Linked DNA regions of Homo sapiens: all the other regions are linked to region 4. Evidence: promoter capture Hi-C in human tissues and cell types (Jung and others, 2019). All regions are on one chromosome and are shown on one strand. Each heading gives the region's core, a stretch centred on a gene start or on the middle of the fragment in contact. The rest is flanking DNA. Distances are from core to core; before and after follow the strand shown. Region 1 overlaps LOC102723803 (a long non-coding RNA gene). Region 2 overlaps LOC102723803 (a long non-coding RNA gene). Region 3 overlaps LOC102723803 (a long non-coding RNA gene). Region 4 holds the start of DMRT2 (doublesex and mab-3 related transcription factor 2).

What was found. The method cuts DNA at HindIII sites, captures the fragments that hold promoters and counts their contacts. A contact is called where the count stands out against the background at its distance.
Region 1: a contact is called between a fragment that was not itself captured here and the fragment with the promoter of DMRT2 in region 4, in 2 of the 25 tissues and cell types used here (mesendoderm cells and thymus).
Region 2: a fragment that was not itself captured here is called in contact with the fragment with the promoter of DMRT2 in region 4 in 2 of the 25 tissues and cell types used here (mesenchymal stem cells and mesendoderm cells).
Region 3: a contact is called between a fragment that was not itself captured here and the fragment with the promoter of DMRT2 in region 4, in 2 of the 25 tissues and cell types used here (mesendoderm cells and stomach).

Annotation. Positions count from the first base shown.
Region 1 is chr9:1,341,624-1,348,024 of GRCh38, forward strand. The region is part of intron 3 of LOC102723803 (a long non-coding RNA gene); the gene reads left to right. Among named protein-coding and RNA genes, the nearest start is that of DMRT2, 290 kb to the left of the region's middle. The HindIII fragment of the contact is 5,830 bases long and covers 1,837-6,401 here.
Region 2 is chr9:1,423,280-1,429,616 of GRCh38, forward strand. The region is part of intron 3 of LOC102723803 (a long non-coding RNA gene); the gene reads left to right. Among named protein-coding and RNA genes, the nearest start is that of DMRT2, 380 kb to the left of the region's middle. The HindIII fragment of the contact is 4,038 bases long and covers 1,390-5,427 here.
Region 3 is chr9:1,400,910-1,407,153 of GRCh38, forward strand. The region is part of intron 3 of LOC102723803 (a long non-coding RNA gene); the gene reads left to right. Among named protein-coding and RNA genes, the nearest start is that of DMRT2, 350 kb to the left of the region's middle. The HindIII fragment of the contact is 7,432 bases long and covers 1-6,244 here.
Region 4 is chr9:1,049,107-1,051,606 of GRCh38, forward strand. DMRT2 (doublesex and mab-3 related transcription factor 2) reads left to right here and starts at 1,251. Exons shown (of 4, transcript NM_181872.6): 1 at 1,251-1,669; 2 at 2,464-2,500. RefSeq lists an enhancer at 1,023-1,892. The HindIII fragment of the contact is 14,990 bases long and covers 1-2,500 here.

The sequences.
Region 1 (6,401 bases), core at 3,502-6,001, 300 kb after region 4:
GGAAATGGGTGTGGATAATGAGGCTGGATCACATTCAGGAGCATCTTGTACACTACATAGGGAGGGTGGGCCTCTATCCTGAAGGTATTAGAAAACAAATTGAGATGTCTAAGCTGGGGATGGAGCTACGTGTTTATGAATTTTGTGAAAGAATATAACTCTTACAGTATGAGAGATAGTTTAAACTAGAAAGAGGCTGGTTATGAGAAGTGAAGCTTTTTACAATATTTCAGGCAAGAGATGATGAGGCCATAGGCTAAGGATTTCATATATCTGCCATGTGTCCTACTACTCCTTTCTGCACCATAACAGACATTACTAGTCAATCTGTTCTGTTCCCTGGTTATCCTAGAATTTTTCTCCATACAGCACATCAGGAAGCCACTGTTTATTAACATACAACATATAAACATATAACATATAAACATAATAATAATGTTTATAATGATGAAACTTGTTTATCATCTTTGTCAGAGAAGAGGGAAAGAAACAGAATAAACATGATAACTGACAGCTTAAACGTTGAGGCTTAAAGAGAAAGTCAGGAATAACTAACTCTTTCTCTATTGGAAGGCTTAGAGGCATGGTGATACAACTAAATAAAACTGACCTCAAAGGACACAGAACATCCTTGGGGTGGAAGATGATAATTTCAGTTTGGGTTGTGTTTTGAGATGCAAGCACAACATTCAAGTGGAAGTACACGCAAGTTAATAACTACGAGGTGCATATAAGACTTTAAACCAGTGTTATTCACCACATTACCCCACACTGGCTATGGTTCTTAGCCAGGAATGTATGTCTGGAGCTTGCAAGATATTTTAGAGCTGGAAATATAGGTTTGGCATATTTTACTCTAGAATATAGATTTTGCCATTTAAGCCATGGACATCATTCAAGGAGAGGGCTATTAACTCAGAAGTCTTTTTTAAAAGTGTCAATACACATGAGAATAATATTAAATTAATTTACAAAAAAGTATTAGCATGATTTCAGATATCTTTCTCAAGGATTATGGCCTCAGGCAGTATCCTAAAATCAATGGGATATGGAAAGTGAAAAGTGATAGAGGGTTAAAAAGGGACATAGAATGTAGATGAGTAAGTGAAAGACAGATTTCGCTCACTTGGCAATTTTATTTGGGGTCGAGTCAATTCTTAAGGGAGGCAAGACTTAAGAATAGTTTTGATCTGTGGCACTGTTGAATGAAGTACTTTTACTTGGTTTTAGCCATGGAGTTATGTGCTTCCTAGCCTTATCTTAATATTTTCTTCCTCAATGAATAATTATATTGAAGCAACTTGGAGAGAAGACCACATAATAATATGTTAAACTGATTTGTTTTCCTCCTGATTAATGTACACCAGAAGATTTTCCTCTTTGTTCTTGTTAAATCAATTAACTTGGTATCTGAAATACACCAACGGGTTATGTTGCCCAGAGGAGAAATAGAAATGTCTAATATTCTATCATTTCATATGAAAACTATAGTACTGCTTGGTAGTTGTTCGTTTACTTAGGGTTGACTATAGGAAAACAAACCATCAGCCTTCAAAACTGAGATTTACCTTCTCCCTGACCATGACTGGTAGTGAAGTCTTGAGAACTGTGAGGAAATGTTTTGGCTACTTGTTCCCCTCTCGGTGGCCTATAGTGTCTTGGAAGCATGTGGCAGGCATTCAAGGGATGTTTCAGCTTATTTTAAATCCCTGGTTGAAAGGAGTTGAGATACAGACATGGCAAGGTGAGCCACTTGCTCTGGCAGCACAGGCCAAGCTCATTCTTTCCGTCTGTGCTCAGAAAAGCTGCAGCTCCGGGCTTTCCTGGGCTTGGAGTATTCTGTCTCTGTCCACTGGTCTTTTCACTCTTGGGCCGGGGAGGGCATGCAAAAGGAAAGGTTGTGTCTTAGTCATCTTTGGCTGCTATAACAAATTATAATAGACTGGGCAGGTTAAACGCAGGTATTTTTTTCTCACTGTTCTGGAGGATGGAAATCTGAGATAAGGGTGCTACCATGTCTGAGTTTTGGTAAGGTTCCTCTTTCTGATTTGCAGACAGTCATCTTCTAGCTGTGTCCTTACATAATGAAGAGAGAACTGTCTCTCTTCCTGTTCTTCTAAGGGCCCTAATCCTATTATGAGTGCTCCACCCTCATGGCCTCATGTCTCCCTAATCACCTTCCAAAAGCCCCATCTGCAAACACCTTCACTTTCGGGTTAGGGCTTCAACATATGAACTTGGGGGGACACGATTCAGTCCATAGCAGGTTGGCTGCACATTCATAAATTTCTGGGTTTCCTGGATAGCTGGATTTACTAGGCTCATTTCATACCACGCTCTTTCCAATGTATTTACTTTTTTTATTTTTTTAATTGGCAAAAATTGTTTATATTTATCTTGTATAACATGTTTTGAAGTATGTGTACACTGTGGAATGGCTAAATCAGCTAATTAACATACGTATTACCTCACATACTTATCTTTTGTGATGAGAGCACTTAAAATCTACTTTCTTAGCAATTTTCCATAATATAATACAGTGTTATTAACTATAGTCACCACATTGTACAATAGGTCTCTTGGACTTATTCCTCCTGTCTACCTGAAATTTTGTACCCTTTGACCAACATCTTTTCCCCTTTCCTACCCCAGCCTCTGGTGCCCACCAGTCTACTCTCTGCATCGATGAGTTCAGTTTTCAGATTCCACACGTGAGATCATGCAATATTCATCTTTTTGTGCCTTGCTTATTTTAATTAACATAATGTCCTCCAGGTTCATCCATGTTTTTGCAAATGATAGTATTTCCTTCTTTCTTATGGCTGAATAGTACTCCATTGTGTATATATGCCACATTTTCTTTATTCATCCTTTAATGGACACTTAAGTTAATTCCATGTCTTGGCTATTGTGAATAGTGCTGAAATAAACATGGGAGTCCAGATAGCTCTTTGACATACTGATTTATTTCCTTTGGGTTTATACTCAGCAGTGGGATTGCCGGATCATATGGTGGTTCTATTTTTAATTTTTTAGTGAAAATCCATACTGTTTTTTATAGTGGCTATGCTAATTTACATTTCTACCAACAGTGTGCAAGGGTTTTCTTTTCTCTACATCCTTGCCAGCACTTGTTATCTTTCGAAAATAGGCTTTCTAACTGGGGTGAGATGACAACTCATTGTAGTTTTAGTTTGCATTTTCTTGATGATTAGTGATCTTAAATATGTTTTTTCATATAGCTGGTGGCAATTTTTTATGTCTTCTTTTGGGAAATGCCAATTCAGTTCCTTTACCAGTTTTATAATTGACTTTTTTTTTTTGCTATTGGAATGTTTGAGTTCCTTATATATTTTGGACATTGACTCTTTATCAGATGTGTGGTTTGCAAATGTGTTATCCCACTTCATAGTTTATCTCTTTCTCTGTTAATTGATTGTTTCCTTTGCGTGCTGAAGCTTTTTAGTTTGATATAATCTCTTTTTTTATTCTTGCTTTTACTGCATGTGCTTTTGGAATCATATCCAAATAATCATTGCCTAGACCAACATCATGGAGCTTTCCTGTATCCTTTTCTCTAGTTACTTTACAGTTTCAGGTTTTAAGTCAGTAGTTCATTTTGAATTGATTTTTTTATCTGGTATTAGTTAAAGGTATAATTGTATTCTTCTGTATGTGGATATCCAGTTTCCTCAACACCATTTATTGAAAAGACTATCATTTCCTATTGTGTGTTCTTGACACCTTTGTCAAAAATCAATTGACTGTAATTGTGTGGACTTATTTCTGGGATCTCTATCTTGTTCCACTGGTCTGTGTATCTGATTTTTGCCAGTGCCTTGCTGTTCTGATTATTATACCTTTGTAGTATATTTTGAAGTCAGGTAGTGTGATGCTTCCAGTTTTCTTGTTTTTGCTCAAGATTGTTTGGCTATCTAGGGTCTTTTGTGGTTCCATGCAAATTTTAGGATTTTTTTCTATTTCTGCTAAAAATGTCATTGGAATTTTGGTAGGGTTGCATTGAATCTGCAGATTACTTTCGGTAGTATGGACGTTTTAACAATATTTATTCTACCAATCCATGAACTTGGGATATCTTTCCATTTATTTGTGTCTTCTTCAATTTCTGTAATCAATGTTTTATAATTTTCAATGTACAGGTCTTTCACCTCCTTGGTTAAATATATTCTTAAGTATTTTTTTTTCTGGTAGCTATCATAAATTAAATTTTTTATTGATTTCTTTTTTGGATAGTTGTCAGTGCATAGAAACACTATTGATTTGTATATGATGATTTTGTATCCTCCAACTTTACTGAGTTTTTCAGTTCTAGCAGTTGTTTGGTAGATTCCTTAGGGTTTTCTAAATATAAGTTCATGTCATCATAACATGATCTTATATTTATAAATAAATATGAAAGGTAACAAATGTTTGTCTTAAAAGACAAGACAATTCTCTTATCTTTTAAAAACCTAAGTCAGATCTCCTTTCATCTCTACTCAGACCCCAGAATTGTCTTCCCATCTCGCCGAGGGTAAAAGCCAATGTTCTTACATAGCTTGCAAGACCTTTGGTGATCTGGCTCCTGAAATGCTCCCTGTCATTCATTCTTCTGCAGCCATCCTGTCCTCTCTCCTGTCCTTTAAACAATCAGGCACCTCCCTAGCACCTCAGGGCCTTTGCACTGGTTGCTTGTTCTGCCTGGAGCACTCAGATGTACACACGTCTTGCTCTCTTTCTCCTTCAAGTATTTGATCAAATATCCCTTTCACACCTAGGCTAGGTGTGAAATACCCTACTTAAAATAAAATTGTTGCCTGCCCGCTTACTGGTCTGCTCAAACTAGTCACCCTGCTTTATTTTCCTCCATAGGACTTACCAGAGTCTTACAAACAAATCCTTATTTATTTTCTTTATTGTCTGCCTAGCCCCTTTAGAACAAAAGCTCTATCAGGGAAGAAATTTTAGTCTGTTTGGCTCAATGTGGTTTCCATGTCTAGATTCTACGTAGGGCCTGGCACAGGTATTCAACAGACATCTGTTGAATAAATGAATTTTCTTTCTGTGGTAAAGAGAGGAGTCCCTGGGGATATGGTAGAGCTGGAATTTCCCCGTTAAATCCTTTTCATTTCATGCTTTTCTGTTCTGCGTTATGCTCCACTTTGGAATAACTCAACTAAATAACCATTAGGTAGAAGACCAACCCTACACATAGTGTTTTAGAAATTTCTATTCCCCAAATGAATTACATACTCCCAAACATCTCCCTGTGGGCCTACCAAATGCCCCAAATAGTCATTCCAGCATATTTATCCAACTGAAACTGCCTTGTTGAGGACACCAGTGGTAAAAATAATGAGGAACATTTGTTCATTGTTCACCACGTGCCAAACACTGGAGTAAGCACTAATGTGCATTATTAGCTCATTTCCGATAATACTCATTTTACAGTTGAGAGACTAAGAGTTAGAATTGGAGGGGAAGGGGGTTTGTTTGGGAGAAGAATGTCCCAGTGAAAGGTACAGCAAATTTGAAAGTTTAGAGGAAAGTGAGAGTACCGGAAGACATCTAGAAAGGTGGAAGTGGAGAGTGCATGAGAAATGAGTCAAGTTAAGGATGGAAGAATCATAGTTATAAAGGCTTGTGGTTCATCAGCTTAGAAGTTTCTACATAAATATCTCGGTTAAAATTTCACCAATTTTTAGACTCTTAAGCCCATGAAATTCTAATCTATCATTTTAGTCCTTCCTCCACTTTACTGGGAGGTTGTCAGTTGTTTTCATGTAAAGAATTCATTTTCTTCTGGGCATCTTAAAACTAAGGAAAAGCAGGTTCTCTTTTTAAAAAACAATGTGTTTTCCCACTCAGTATGTTCATATTTTTGTTTTTGGTGATTGTCAGACACTTTTGCTTTATAAACAAAAGCTACTGAATTCATAGTTATTATTCTGCTTGATTCTGCTCCAAAGTAGTTAAATGGAACCTAATGTCAGAAAAGTTTACATGACAATGTATTTACTAGGATTAATCCTTCACTCTAAGATCAAACAGGAGAACTAAAGGCAATAATTTTTATCAGATTGCAAATATCTGAAGCAGTGGTTCAGGGAAGAATTAGAGGAAATCACAACTTCAGTCATAAAAGAATTATACTATTTATATAAATAAAATCATTCTAGAGTATTGCCTATTTATAGCAAAGGTTTTTTTTGCCATATGAGATGAATTGATAATTAATCTGTATATATTTTTTGTTGGCAATTTCTTTAGAAAAATACGACAAAATATAAAGTATTATAAAATAAATACAAAAGGTCTACAAAATTGCAACCATATTTGTTATAAGCTAAAAACATAATTCTTTTTAATACTCCAGAAGACATTATCAGACATTTACCAAA
Region 2 (6,337 bases), core at 2,159-4,658, 380 kb after region 4:
GAATGTTGGCCTGCCTTGCTAAAATGGGGAAATTCTCCTTGGTAATATCCTGCAAAGTGTTTTCCAACTTGGTTCCATTCTCCCCGTCACTTTCAGGTACACCAATCAGATGTAGATTTGGTCTTTTCACATAGTCCCATATTTCTTGGAGGCTTTGTTCATTTCTTTTTTTTCTTTTTTCTCTAAACTTCTCTTCTCGCTTCATTTCATTCATTTCATCTTCCATCACTGATACCCTTTCTTCCAGTTGATTGAATCGGCTACTGAGGCTTCTGCATTCGTCACATAGTTCTTGTGCCGTGGTTTTCAGCTCCATCAGGTCCTTTAAGGACTTCTCTGCATTGGTTATTCTAGTCAGCCACTTGTCTAATCTTTTTTCAAGGTTTTTAACTTCTTTGCCATTGGTTCAAACTTCCTCCTTTAGCTCGGAGTAGTTTGATCGTCTGAAGCCTTCTTCTCTCAACTCATCAAAGTCATTCTCCATCTAGCTTTGTTCTGTTGCTGGTGAGGAGCTGCATTCCTTTGGAGGAGGAGAGGAGCTCTGATTTTTAGAATTTTCAGTTTTTCTGCTCTGTTTTTTCCCCATCTTTGTGGTTTTATCTACCTTTGGTCTTTGATGATGGTGACATACAGATGGGGTTTTGGTGTGGGTGTCCTTTCTGTTTGTTAGTTTTCCTTCTATCAGTCAGGACCCTTAGCTGCAGGTCTGTTGGAGTTTGCCGGAGGTCCAGTCCAGACCCTGTGTTCCTGGGTATCAGCAGCGGAGGCTGCAGAACAGCAGATATTGGTGAACAGCAAATGTTGCTGCCTGATCGTTCCTCTGGAAGTTTTGTCTCAGAGGAGTACCCGGCCATGTGAGGTGTCAGTCTGCCCCTACTGGGGGGTGCCTCCCAGTTAGGCTACTTGGGGGTCAGGGACCCACTTGAGGAGGCAGTCTGTCTGTTCTCAGATCTCAAGCTGTGTGCTGGGAAATCCACTACTCTCTTCAAAGCTGTCAGACAGGGACATTTAAGTCTGCAGAGGTTTCTGCTGCCTTTTGTTTGGCTATGCCCTGCCCCCAGAGGCGGAGTCTACAGAGGCAGGCAGGCCTCCTTGAGCTGCAGTGGGCTCCACCCAGTTCAAGCTTCCCAGCTGCTTTGTTTACCTACTCAAGCCTCAGCAATGGCAGGTGCCCCTCCCCCAGCCTTGCTGCCACCTTGCAGTTCGATCTCAGACTGCTGTGCTAGCAATGAGCGAGACTCCGTGGGCATAGGACCCTCTGAGCCAGGCGTGGGATATAATCTCCTGGTGTGCCATTTGCTAAGACCGTCGGAAAAGCTCAGTATTAGGGTGGGAGTGACCCGATTTTCCAGGTGCCGTCCATCACCCCTAGGAAAGGGAATTCCCTGACCCCTTGCACTTCCTGGGTGAGGCGATGCCTCGCCCTGCTTTGGCTCAGGCTCGGTGCACTGCACCCACTGTCCGACAATCCCCAATGAGATGCACCTGGTACCTCAGTTGGAAATGCAGAAATCATTCATCTTCTGCGTCGCTCACACTGGGAGCTGTAGACTGGAGCTGTTCCTATTCGGCCATCTTGGCTCCACACCCAGATACTGAGACATTAAAACTCGTTAGCAGGCAGGCAACATCTAATCTAATAATTAACAAAAAAGCTTTTTTCCCCTAAGTTGTTGAAACATTTGGGGCAGAAGTCCCCTCCCTCAGTTATTTCTAGCTCCTGTTCCTTTCTTTTGCTTGCCAGTGTTGACATTTAACTTGGTTGAGTCACATTTGGAAACACTGTCACAGGTGGGTACTGTTTAGCACAGAGTTTCCACTGGTCTACATCCAAAAAGATTATGGATAACCAAACTCTGAGTTGCAAGAGGAAGGATGTGTCCCTAAAATCTCCATTTTCATAGCAATCTTCCTGGAATCAGAGACAGGGCTGTGCTGTCTAGCCTCTATGCTGGGTGGGTGCCCCATCCCCTGCTTTGGAAAAAGACTCCAGAAGCATGAATGTGATTTTAGGATCCAAGTGGGCCTCTGCACAGAGACTTTCTCAATTTGGCATTGCTGGGGTTAGAGGGTCAAGGTGATCAAACCTGCAGCTCACTTGTGATATTTGCTGGCAGAAACAAGGGGATGTTGGCTTGCTTCTGCAGTTGTTGTGGATTTTTAGGAAAGCTTTCAGAATGTGGAAAATAATTCTGCCTTCATTTTCCCTCACTTGTATCTTCACTTTGCTTTACTTATAGTTTAGGTATGATATTTATCAAAAAACATTAGTTCTAGTTTTAAAAAATGTGTTAAAATTTGCCTCTCTTGTCATACATATTTTTAAAATGTCCCTAGCATATTAGAACAAAAATATTAAAGCTTGAAGGCCCCCAGAGATCATCCAGTTTTTCAGCCTCTTTATAGATAGGGAAACTGAGGGCTGGAGGTACTGTGACTTCTGGGATATCATTTGATAGCATTGTGATTCTAAAAGTGCGATGATCTTGGTCTCTCTTGTCAGACTACAGAGCTCTTTTTAGTTTACCAGGTCACCTGATATGTTTGTGGTCATAGAAAGTCTTAGGTCACAATCTCTGTGAAACAGAGCTCTTCAAAAATATTTAATTAAATCAGTTTGTACTACAAACAAATGAGTGTTCTCTCAGAGTGTAACTTCCCTTTAGTTTTCATTTATGGTCTTTGCAGCAATAAATATATCTGTACAATAGCTAGGCAGTCTCAAAGAAAATATTTTTAGTGGAAATAAATTATTTTTCTTCCACCAATTTCCCTAGGTGAGACTGAATTGAGAATAAGGAAAATAGAGAGGATGTCTGCAAGCCTGTGTGTATTCCATATAGGAATATGGAGAGTGATTCTGTGGTTGATAATTATGCTGCCTTATTTTCTGACAGACCGAGTTTCAGGTCCTAAAAATGTAATATAATCATCAATCTGAAACCTTTTTACAGCATTTGTCAAATTCATCTCTTTTTTTAAATTCAGAAAAATCAATTTTTGATGGATAGAAATCTCAAGGCCCAGAAAGCAGGCATCCTTGGGGTAACTTCCTCTGTAGTAGGCACAGAGCTGTACATGAGAGTTTGAATTAATATTTTGATGTTTCCCAAGCTTCATTCTTACTTGAGTAAAGGGGAGAAGTGGAGGACTGGGGAGGTCTTTAGCAGTGGGAAACCCTTTTCAAACAGAATAAGGAAGACATCACTTTTGATACCTAACCCCAAGCCAAACACAGAATGTTCTAGCAGCCTTAAGATTTCTGGTTTAATTGCTCTATCTAAGAGACTAATTTATATGCCCATCCCCTTGAAAGCTGTCAATCTGAAATTCTCTTTGAAAGTCAGGTGGCTTGCTTTATACTCAGCAGGCATGTTCCATGGTAGCTCTGTTGTCCAGAGCTCTCAGCAGAAAAGTTTATGCTCTTTGTAATTCTATATCTCTCCTTCAAATCTCTTTGTAATTCTACATTGATCAGTTGGGACATGGAAGCTGAAAGAATTTCAGGCCATGCTGCAACTCTGTACATTCTGAAAATTCTCTGGAGGAAATTCTTACTTTACCCTATTTGTTTACTATAGACAAAATATACATATAATAACATATTTATTATTATAAATATAAATATTTGTTTATTATATAATAATCCCAGATAAAATAATCTCAGAAATACTCTGGTGGCAAGTATAGACTGGCTTTTAAATATCTCTAATTATCTGAGCATCTAGGGACTCAATCTATCTAACTTGTGTCATTGGTGCTGAAGTCAATCATTATAATGTGGAAAGAAACCTCTTTTCCATCAAAGTCAAGAATGCCTATCCTTGCACTCTGGGAAAATAATATTTATTATAAAGGCAATTGTGACATCCCAAACCATAGTTGTTATCAAGTTCCTCATACTCTAAGATCCTTTATGTAAGAATGGAGGGAATAAATTTCATAGTTTCATTCTTTCGTAGGTACTGGAATTGCCATCTCCAATATACGTGTTATTAAAAATTATCTTGAAATAATCAAACAGTCAAAGGGGACATTGGAAATGAGGTAGTGAAAAGACTACGGGACTCACAAGTAGATAGACTTGGGTTAACACACTGCGGGTGGTAAGGTGGTTGACTTGGCAAGTGAGTTGTCTAACTTTTCTAATCTCAGTGGTTTTTCTTGTGAAGTGGGACTAATAAAATTATCACAGTGTTGTTCTAAGAATTCATTGAGACAATGCGTGTAAAGTGTCTGGCTTATTAGGAACTTAATAAATACTGATGTTTCTCCCTGCTGAAGACTTTAATACTACTTTTGATTTATGTGCTGGTTTTGTCCTGAAAGTTGTTTTTAGGTCCAGTAGTTTTTGTTGGCTCAGTTGGGAGCTCTGAATGAATGAAAATCCCAGGCAACTCTGACATTGGGCTGGGTGAAAGATCCATTCCCAAGAAGTTCAAGGAAATCAATACCTTCCTAATTTCTTCACTCGGTGTAGAGTTATAGGTGTTGCCCCAAATTCTGATACTCAAGTCTGATAACAGTGTGGTGGTTTCCACTGTTAGAAAACCTACCCAATGTTGTATTACTCCTTGTGCCCAACATCTTCTTAAAAAAGCTGTGGATAAACTGATTTTTTGAGAGGCTATGGAAGTTTGACAAACTGGTATTCTATTGCCTTGGGTAGAGATGGTTAAGTGTGGGAGTCAAATGAAGAAACACCACCATCAGGGAGGACACTAGAGATAGGGGCTCATACACACAGAGCTCACGGCTTGTGCGATGATATTGTGAAGTCATGTTTAAGTGGAAACTCAGACACCAGATGTGTACAGCTGCAGTAGAGGAGCCAACCCAGCCAAAGCCAGAAAAGCCCCATGCTGGTTGTTTTACTTTTGAGTGAGAAGGAAGGGGAAATAAATCTCTCACAATAGATAAAGAGAAGATAGTTCATGTTTTTTTTTATCACCTTTTTCTTTTCCTTTATTTTAAAGTCTAAATGGGGCCATTTGTCTTTAATGTGTTTTACCTATCAAGAAATACGTGAGCAATTCTATATCAATTAAAAAATGTGAACAGTTCTGCAGAAAAATGTTCAGTTCAAGTGGCTTAAGACAGGTTCCATTTGTTCAACAATCTATACTTTTTAAAAGGCTATACTTTTCTTGAGAGTTCCTTAAGTTCATAGCATGAAGAGGGATGAGTTGCTGATCCTATATACGTAAGTATTGCCTTTATAACCGTATTTTTTTCCTCTTTGGGTAAAGATTTCATTTAAACAATCATCAGCAAATGTCTTTGCTAATGGTATATATACAGTGGGACTAACTTTTCTCTGGGGAAGTTAGTCCATTGAAAATTATTTGCTGTAACTTATTCCTTGCCGCAGACAGTATCATGGTCCAACAGAAAAGCATTTAAAACTTTGTTATGTGTTATTAAGGAATATTTACACTTGTGGGGCTATTCTTAAGATAGCCAGAGCACTTTTGTAGCTGAATTACAAAAAGAACACATCCAACCTAGGTTTGTTTGTTTATTTATTTAGGCTACTCCTTGCAGAGCAGGGCTAACTCCTAAGCAGTGTCCCCAGCCTAGTCTTTCTTAAATACAGAAAAGATGAAGCCCAGAATCCTAGTTTTCAGAGTTTATATCTACAAGTCTGACTTATCTGTGAAATTGGCTAGAGCTAGAATATACTTGATTACAACCCCTTTAAAACTGAGCTTCCCATTTTGTCTATACACATATTGAAGACTGTAAAGAAGGAAAACACGTAATGTTTTCTTAAAAATGTCCTAAAATGAGACATTTAAATGTCCTTAAAAATGAAATTCATCATTTGTTATCTTAACATACTAGTATATCTGAAACTTGACAACGCAAGTTTCAGATATACTAGTATGTTAGGATAACAGTAAAAGAAAGATTAGACTAGCAGGGGAATAAAATGCACAACAAAATCTCCTCTCCCTTCCTGTACTCTTATTTGAATGAAAAGACTGGAAAAGATGCTTGGTTTAAACCACATGGGAAAAATATCTTTTCAGCTGCAAACTGCTTTTTATATTTTAGCAATGTAAACACATTGTATGGGAATACAAGGGGCTGTGCTGCCTCCCTGTCCAAATACTGCATGCAGGTAACACCGAACAAGAGGTGGAGTGATAACATGGACAGACTGCCTGGAACACAGATACCATCTCCCAGGGCCCAGGATTCGGAGGCCTAGAGGTAACGCTGGTGTTTCTAGGCTTTGCAACAGTGAAGGACCACTGCCACCTGTGGACAGCAGCAAGCATTAGCGACATGCTGCAGGCCGAGTGAAGTGTCAGTGTTGTATTTTTACAGTGAC
Region 3 (6,244 bases), core at 1,795-4,294, 350 kb after region 4:
AGAATCAGCCAAAGAACATATTAATAATTTAGATGGCTGGGTCCTCCTTCCTCCCTGACCTATGGAATGTGAAGCTCAGGGGTAAGAATTTGAATTGTGAACACACTTCCCAAGTGATCCTTTATGTTCACTAAGGTTTAATAACCTCTTTCTTAAGAACTTCATGGAGCACAGTCGGAAAACCTCTGAGCTAGTCCAACCTTGAAGATGAAGAAACAGCCCGCAGAGGAAGCTGTCAGGCAGATGAGGATGGTTAGAGACAGAGCCAGGGCTCCCCCATTTGGCTGGCCTCCAGCATCTCTGCAACAGCAGTACAAGAGGCAGCTCTTTATTTTCTAGCGAAGCTGGGGAGAAAGCCCACCTCTGAACTCTTTCAGAATGTTTCCCACACATTAATTATCAGTAAAGGGTATTTATTTCTTTATTTCGATGGTGGAAAATAAATCCATTACTCGTGTTTTCACCTAATAGAACACCGTATTCCCCAAGGTCAGCATTTTAAAAACTTATAAAAATCGATCTCCAAGAGCTAATGGCTTCGACCGGGAGGTAAGGATTTTGGTTCTAAGCCCTTTCTGTTAACTAATGGCTCAATAACAGGACTGAAATCATTTGGGACTGAAAGGAATTCCTAATGATGAAGGAACATCCTAATAAGAAATGAGTGGGATAGTGCCATAACCCCGAAATCTTGGCGCATTCAGCCTCGTAAACCTGCCGAAGTCCATGAAAACAGCCTTTGTGCCTCCTCTGGCACCACATGTGAGAGAGATCCCAGATTTCTTATGAAGCGAAGTGGCTGGAGCAATGTATCTGACCGTGTGAGGTGACACACACCAGGTCTTGGAGCTGCCTGTAAATGAAGGTCCCTCTTAGTGTTTGGTATTGAACTCTGGGCAGGCGAAGTCAAGAGGACTTTCCCTTGTTTTTCATATTGGTTGGTTGTTAAAGGTATGCAATGTAACTTGGAAGTGGATTAGAGAAAGGGGAACCCATGTCCATTACATGTAAGTGTAACTTGAGTTTTTAGTAGAATGTAAAAGTAAGACAGGGCCCTAAAGCCTCTTAATTTTAAACAATTTGAATCTCCACTCAAGTCTCACCAGGCTGTGTGTACAATGTTTTAGCACAAGTCAATAAACTAATGTTTTTGTGCTGTGCTTGTTCTTCGGGGAACTGTCTGTGTAGCTAGTCCTATTTCCATCTTTTGCTTGTTGGGAAGTGGCCCAGTGGTCTCACAAAAGATAGACCATGTTTTTCAAGACTCAACATTGTACCCAATCTTGAAAGCTACACTCATGACTGTTCATAAAGAATCTGCTACCATTGTGGCATGTGGGTATGAGCTGAAGACAAAAGTTTCCTTTTTAATTTATGGAGGCTATCAGCTTCCTCACTGACAAGAATGTAGCTGCACCTTTCTGATAACAGTGCCACCTGGCACCTTCCTAAAGATGGATGCTCCACCTGATGACCCATTTGTGACAAAGAGAAATATAGCAGCTGCATGTCTTGGAATGCTCGTGCCAGCATGGGGAGTGTGCCTTCTCTCTCTGTGGGCAGCTTTCTAATTGCAAGCAGTGCCAGCTCCATAATTTATGAGGCCCAGTGCAAAATGAAAATGTGAGTCTTCTTGTTCAAAAAGCAGGAAAAAAATTTCATTAAAGGAACTAAATGGTAAGGCTTCTCCCTGTCTTCCTTTGTATTTCTCTCAACTTGGTATTTTAAATTTACAGTTTAATGTCATTTTAAGTGAAGAACAATAAAAAATTATTAACATGAATTTTACTGTTTATATTGTACAATGCTAGTTTTATAGGCAAATTTAAGATCATTTAACTCATATAGGAATCATGAAAATTACACAATGGGTATTTCATAGCTCACGCATGCATATGTATTTTGTTCTCACAAGAACAATGGAATGGCTGCACAAAACTAACCCAATTGTTTCTCTTTCACTTCTTGATTCACCAGTTTGTACTAACACTCCTCACTTTGGGCTTACTGAGGAATAAGGAAGAACTGAAAGGAAAAAGGAATTATGGGTTTCCCTATATGTTCCTGTCTATGCCATATTTTTCAGCATAAGTAGTTGGGCAATACAGAGAAATAACATGGGTAAGAAGATATACAATAGGGTTCCTTGGTAGTTCTTGTTACTTAGAACATCATTGCATTCTTTCTGCATCTGAAGCAAGTTCTAGTTAGAATGGAGAGCATGGCCACTCTGGGCTATCAGTGTCCCTGCTTATTCAGTTGTAGGCATAACATGCTTACATTAAACTCCCTTTGGATTGTGCTGAATGCCCATGAATTAGAAGTCCACCAGACTTCTGGGCTCATGGGGCATTGCAAATGCTGTTTGTGAATGGAAGAGCATGCACGTTGCCTGTATCTCCTTTGTTCATGTGCCTGCTCCATTGTCCTATTGGATTTCAGTTACAAAACACAGATTCAAAGATAAAATTACTAAGAATTTCAAGATGGCAACAGCAGAGCATTAAACCACACATGGGACCGTTCTGAGCATGGAGACTTGTGTGGCTGCCCAGGTCTCAAAGCCAGGAAGCCATCCCTGATGGGAAGTTATAATCAGAGAGTGTTTGGTAAGCATGAAATAAAGATCAAGGACTTCAGGAGACCTTAAGTGACCATTATGCGGCATTGAGACCAGGGCATGTTCTAGTTCAAGTGACCATTTCGGTCATGGCTCAGATGTCATCTTCTTAGAGGCTACTCCTAATCATCCATTCCAAAGTAACTCTCCCTTCATCATTCACTATTACAGCAGTGGGTCTCAAATTTCAACCTGTATGACTGATGGTCCCACCCCCAGCGCATCTGATTCAGAAAGTCTTCAGTGAGGGCTGAGAATCTGCTTTCCTAACATGTTCCCCGATGATGCTGATACTGCTAATTTAGGGATCAAACTCTGAGAACCACTGCTCTGTTTCATCACCCTGCTCTTCTTTTATACAACATTTTCCTGGAATTATGTTTGTATTTTAAAATTTGCCTATTGTCTGGTTCCACCACAAGAAATTAAGCTCATCGCGAACAGGAATTTAGTCAGCAAAGTTTAACTGCTATGTTTCGAGGATTCAGAATATGCCTAACTTGTTATAGGTACTCAGTAAATATTTATTGAATTAACAAATGGACGCATGGCCAGGAAGTTCAATGGGTGAAAGATTTTTTAGATGGTGGTGATTGGAGTGGGTCTGGGCCACAGAAATACTTGTATCCACACCCAGATAGGGGGCGGTGCTCATCAAATTTTCTTCTAGGCAAATAAAATACAAAGTTGCAAATCTAGGGGCAGGGAGCAGTAATCATGAAACATGATGCTAGTGAACCAACAGGATAATTTCAATAGTAGGGATAGGAGGGCTGCATAATTTCCTCTAAGGCTTGAGTATGTGGCCATTGCTAAAACAGAATAACATGCAAAGCTCCCTCCTGTGCCTAGGTGAATTCTATAGCCTCAGCAACTCTGTACATGAGGGGTCCCTGCATGACTTCTGGTTGACAAAAGCAGTTATTTAAGCCTCTTGGGAAGAAGCCTTTGCTGTTGGTTCTTAACCCCTGGTGTATTAAACTCACTCCTCCCTCCAACCTCTAGTGAATCTAATTTGCTGTTCCTAGGGGAGTGTATTTGGTCTGCATAAATAAGTACCACAGACTTTTTGGCAGGTGGCTTAGACAGCAGACATTTATTCCCTTGCCAATCTGGAAGCTGTCAGAGACCAAAAATTCATCAGGGTTGGTTTCTCGGAAGGCCTCTCTTCTTGGCTTGTAGCTGGCCATTTTCTCCTCTTTGTCTCCACATGGTCTTCTTTCTGCGCTTGTCTGTGTCCTAATCTTTCATTTTAAAGACACCAATCAGATTAGAGCCCACCCCAAGAGCTTCATTTAACCTTAAGTACCTCGTTAAAGACCTTGTCTCCATATACAGTCATATTCTGGAATCCTGGGTGTTAGGACTTCAACGTATGAATTTCGAACGGATGCAATTCAGCCTTAGCAGGTGGGACCCCAGGAAGTTGTATTTCTAGCAGTGTCTCCAGGTAATTTCGATGAAGCCAGGCCTAGAGCCCGTGTTTGGTAGCTTCTACAAACACCTGCTAGTTCTGCAGCCTCCTCCACTGGCATGACCCTCTCTTTTCACCTTTGCAAATGAGGGCTTCTCTGCCAGGCCAGCTGACTTTCAACTAGATTGTAACAGATATGCTCCGGAAGGAATCAGTAACCCAATACCTTGCTGCCTGCAAACATAATCTGGGTTTGTTTGTGGCTGGGCTTCTGGATATCAACCTAGAGACATTTCATTTCCAATGAACTATGTTCTCAAAAGCAAGGTAGGTTTGCTCTTTGCAGAAAAACCTGAATCTGAAGACGGGTTGTAAGTGAAGCTTAGTGTGTTGGAAAATGGATCAAATGTAGACCTAATTGCCTATAATTTATTGTCTGTGGTCACAATTTAGTCTGCTTTCCAAGAATCCTGATTAAATCCTCAACCTCAGGATACCCCAAGGAGCGGTGCAACACTAACAAGCATTTGCCTGAAAAGTCAATCTTCAGTATATATTTCCCTCATATAAATCCTTCCTTTCTTCCACTCTCAAAACTGTCCATATGAATGCAAATAACTCATCTATAGTAGGAGCCACTCTCTCTGCATGTGTGTTTTGGATGTAGGGAGTACGGGGGTGAGGTAGGTTGGGATTAGCCTTCCACCATCTGTGTGAAACAGTTTAATTTTAAAAGCACACTCTATTTGCCATTTTTTTTTGAGTTTATGAAGTGCTAAGTCTGCTCCCAGGTGGAGACAATATTTTCCTTTGAGTTTCGTGGAGCAAGAGCAGTTTTTGAATTGTGCCTTGCATGTCTCAGGGATAAAGTGATACATTTTCTTGACCAATCCTGCTATATTAACAGCGGTGGCGCCAATATCACAAGTTAAATATAGAATTTACTATTGGTGTGGGATGTCAAGGTTCAGCTGTCCTCAGCTTTGATTTTGGACCAAAAGGAGGCCTAGATACAGGGGCTCTATCATTCTTCTAGAGGGTTTGAAAATATGTGGAAATGTGTTTTAGGGGTCACATGTTTGGGGGTATTCCTGAAATGCAATGGAAGGAGGCAGAGAAATGAGACATCTCATTCTGTTCAGAGCAGTTTGGCACAATGAAGACTGATGCACCCAAAATGCTTTTAACAGGCCTCCTGGGAGCCTCACGATGGTTATCAAAGCATGAGTTTTAGTAACAGCAAAGATGGAATGAAAATTGATGTGATGCTTCCCTTCAAACCCTCAAGCACTGAAAACAGGCTGAGGGAAGAGGCTGGCCTGGCTTGTCCTACCTAACTTGTTCAGGAGGAAAGTGGGAGCCGAAGAAGCCAGTAGATCTTGCCTGTGCCTTGATCTCCAGGCCCTGCCTGGTTTGTACTTTGCACAGAACCTACAAGCTCAAGACAGTGCCCCTGAGCCTTAATGCTGCTGGCTTAGGAGAGAGGTGAGGCCACCCAAGTAAGTGTTATCCCCACCCAGAGAGAAACGTAGTCCCATGAAGGCAAGTCAGCCAGGCAGGGAGGAGAGTGTTGGGTAGAGTAAAAAACTGAAGTCCTGAACTTCTCAGAAAGGACACAAGAGTTTATGTGGTTCTGTTTACTAAGGGGCATGAATGGAATATAGGAGAACTATTCTTCCTTATTTTTTGCACTTCATCTGTATAAATTAATACAAGTATTTTCCTCATAACTTCTTCAATTCCTTGGCATCATCCTCAAGGGATATAGGACTTCCTCTTTGATTCCATTTTATTTTTAAACTTGTTTCTCCTGGAGTGGGTACTTTTTTACCCTTAAAATAAATATTATAAACTTTTCGTTTAATTCGACATACTGTTACATTTCACCAAATGGTTAATAAGTAAAACATACTTTTTAAAATTCATTTTTATTTCCTTTAAAGTTTTCAAAAATGATTATTTAAAAAAGAAACAATTGCTGTTGCAAGCACCCTTTCTATTTGTGGGTTGTAATAAGACACCTCAAATAAATTTGGGGATAATTTTGAAAATAATCTTTTCCAAAAATGACTTACAGTTGAAAATAAGATTACTTCTCAAGTAATAGAAAGCATATATTATTTTTAGAACTTGAGATTCAAGAATATCTTATTTTTATAGTAATGGTGGGCAGTGTGAGAACAACATGCATCACTTACTATGGATATAGT
Region 4 (2,500 bases), core at 1-2,500:
TGCCTGGTCACCGGGGAGGAACTTTACAACATCACTGAAGGTTTGAGAATAGTGCTTCTGGCTGGTCGCGGTAGTTCCTAAGCTGCCTTTGTTCCCACTTCTCTGATCCAGGTTAACTTTTAACATTCTGACAAACTCGGACAAAAGTAACGTTGGGATTACGTCAGGAATTCCCACCCTTCAACAAATATTTGTTGCGGGCCTACTATGTACTCAGTGCAATGATACCCAATTTTGTAGTCTCCTAAACAGATCCTACTCGAGAGGTCTTGATTATTTACAGATGCAGTTAGAAAAGCGCCCATATTATTTTTAATTGAGTTCAAGAAATAGAATGCAGCGTTGAATTAGAAGACTAATTCCTTCTTTTAATATGTTGAAAATTTTTTATCGTTAAACATTTTGTAAAGGATTTTTTGAGGGAGTCGTTAGAAAGTCTATAAATACAACTACGCACACTAAAAAGTAGTCATCTTTTTAAAAATAACTTTGTTTAAATGCATGCTTAGTGTGAATGGATTTACCTAATTCTCTTAATAGCATGCATTTCTGATCTTCCCTACATTAACTGTAATAGCAACTGATATAACAGAAAAATGTAAGTGACTTGTAGTCGACTTGGCCACCTGCCACACGGGCTCGGTGAAGGTTAATGAGGAGCTATTTGGCACTTCGAGAATAGGTGGCACTAGACACAGAAATATCAACAGGCTATTTGTATGCTAACTAGGAGTTTCGGTGCCAGGTAACCATTGATGTACTCTTGCAGGAGAAAGAAGGATGTCGCTGTACGCCCCGAAAGAGAGGCATCATTTTTACGCCCAGTTTGGATTAATGATTGATTGAGTCGCAGAAATGCTTGTGATGCTGATAGAGGCCAATACTGGTCTTTCTGATCTCTTCCTCGTCGTTTATTACCTTCTCTTGTGGACAACGCATTCCTAAGAATGTATCTCTGCTTGTTTCCCAGTCCGCGAGATAAATGGTGACTTCTCTCTTGCAGGCACCGTCATACCTCGGGTTTAGATTCTGGACAGGCGAGCCGGCTGCACCGAAGGCCCGGTAGGCGGACTCTGGCGGAGCGCTTCAGAGAGAAGAGTGTAGACCGCGGGAGGCGGAGGGCTCCCTGCCAGCGTGCCTCGGCCAATCAGTATTCACACCGCCTGACAACCGGCCAATCAGAGGACGTAAAGCTCCGGGGCCTGAGCGGACAGTACTAGGAAGGGGAGCGCAGTCTGCAGACTGAAGCCAGTGGCGCTGCGCTGAATGCAACTGCGCGCGCCCGCCGGGTGAGCCAGCGATCTGAGCCAGGCGGGGGCGGCCCGACCTTTCCCGCCCAGCCTGGGTCAGAGGAAGCCGAAAGCGGCCTCAGCAAGGTGAGGCGCCCGAGGCTGCAGAAGACCGAGCAGAACTTTGCAGAGTTCGGGATGTGCTGGGCTAGGTCGCTGAGGACTTGACTGGCTTCCTCCCTCCTTCCCTCCACCTACCTTCTCCCTCCCCCTCCACCATCCAGTGGGTTCGTTCCGGGCCTCCAGCTATCAGCTCCCGATCTCGTGTTTGAGGGTAGCGACCCCGATTTCTGTTTGCATGCACAGCCAGCAGCCCTAGCGCCAGATCCTAAAGCTGGATATCTTTTAACTGGGCTACCAGCCCGGGCCTCAAAGTTTTGGTGAGTGCTGTGATGCCGCTCGGGGTGTCAGGGAGGGCAAAGGGCGTGAATCATCTTTCACCTTTTCTGTGTGACTTGGATGCCTTACCTTAAATATATAAACCAAGGCCTAAGTACAGAGAGCCCACGCGGCTCAGCCCTGTGCACCTCAGGTACTATTAAGGCTGGACGGGCGTCTGTATTGTGCTCTTTGCCCTTATGGGACGCTAATGACAACAAAATTTTGGTTTTCAGTTGAGTATTTTGGGGAGGGGGGTGAGAGGACCTCTTCAAGCCCAAGGAGGGGTCCTTGTGGTGGTGTAGGCTGATGAGAGGCATTTGGGAAGCATAGAGTGGTACTTCAGTGAGTCTGAAGGGCCACTTGTAATCAAAGGAAAACTGTTCTTCCACGGATAGTTTTATATGCATCATGGCCATACTAGTTGAGTATGGGGAAATCCGACAAGTGGCCTGGGGCTGCCTATTTGGACACAATATTTTGTGTGTGTGTGATAAGTGAGTTACCCAGGGACTTGTCCGGAAAGCCCGTGTAAAGCCAGAGAGGGCCACGGTTAAAGGTCAGGTACTCACAGAGCACTTAGAATTAATAAAATAAAACCTTTGTTGGGTTGTGGATCCCTGGGGGCCCTGGAGATACAGGAAAGGCACGTGTGGCCTGGAAGTGAGGGACATGTAATGAGAACAGGATGACTCAAGCGGCCGGAGGCGGGCAGACCAGGAGCTTTGGGCCGGAGGCTCAGGGATGGTCCCTGACGGCGGCCGGTGGGTCTTTGGATTTCTTTGTGTTTCCCCAGAGTGAGGGCCGCCAGGCTCAGGCCCCAGCGAAGCCCC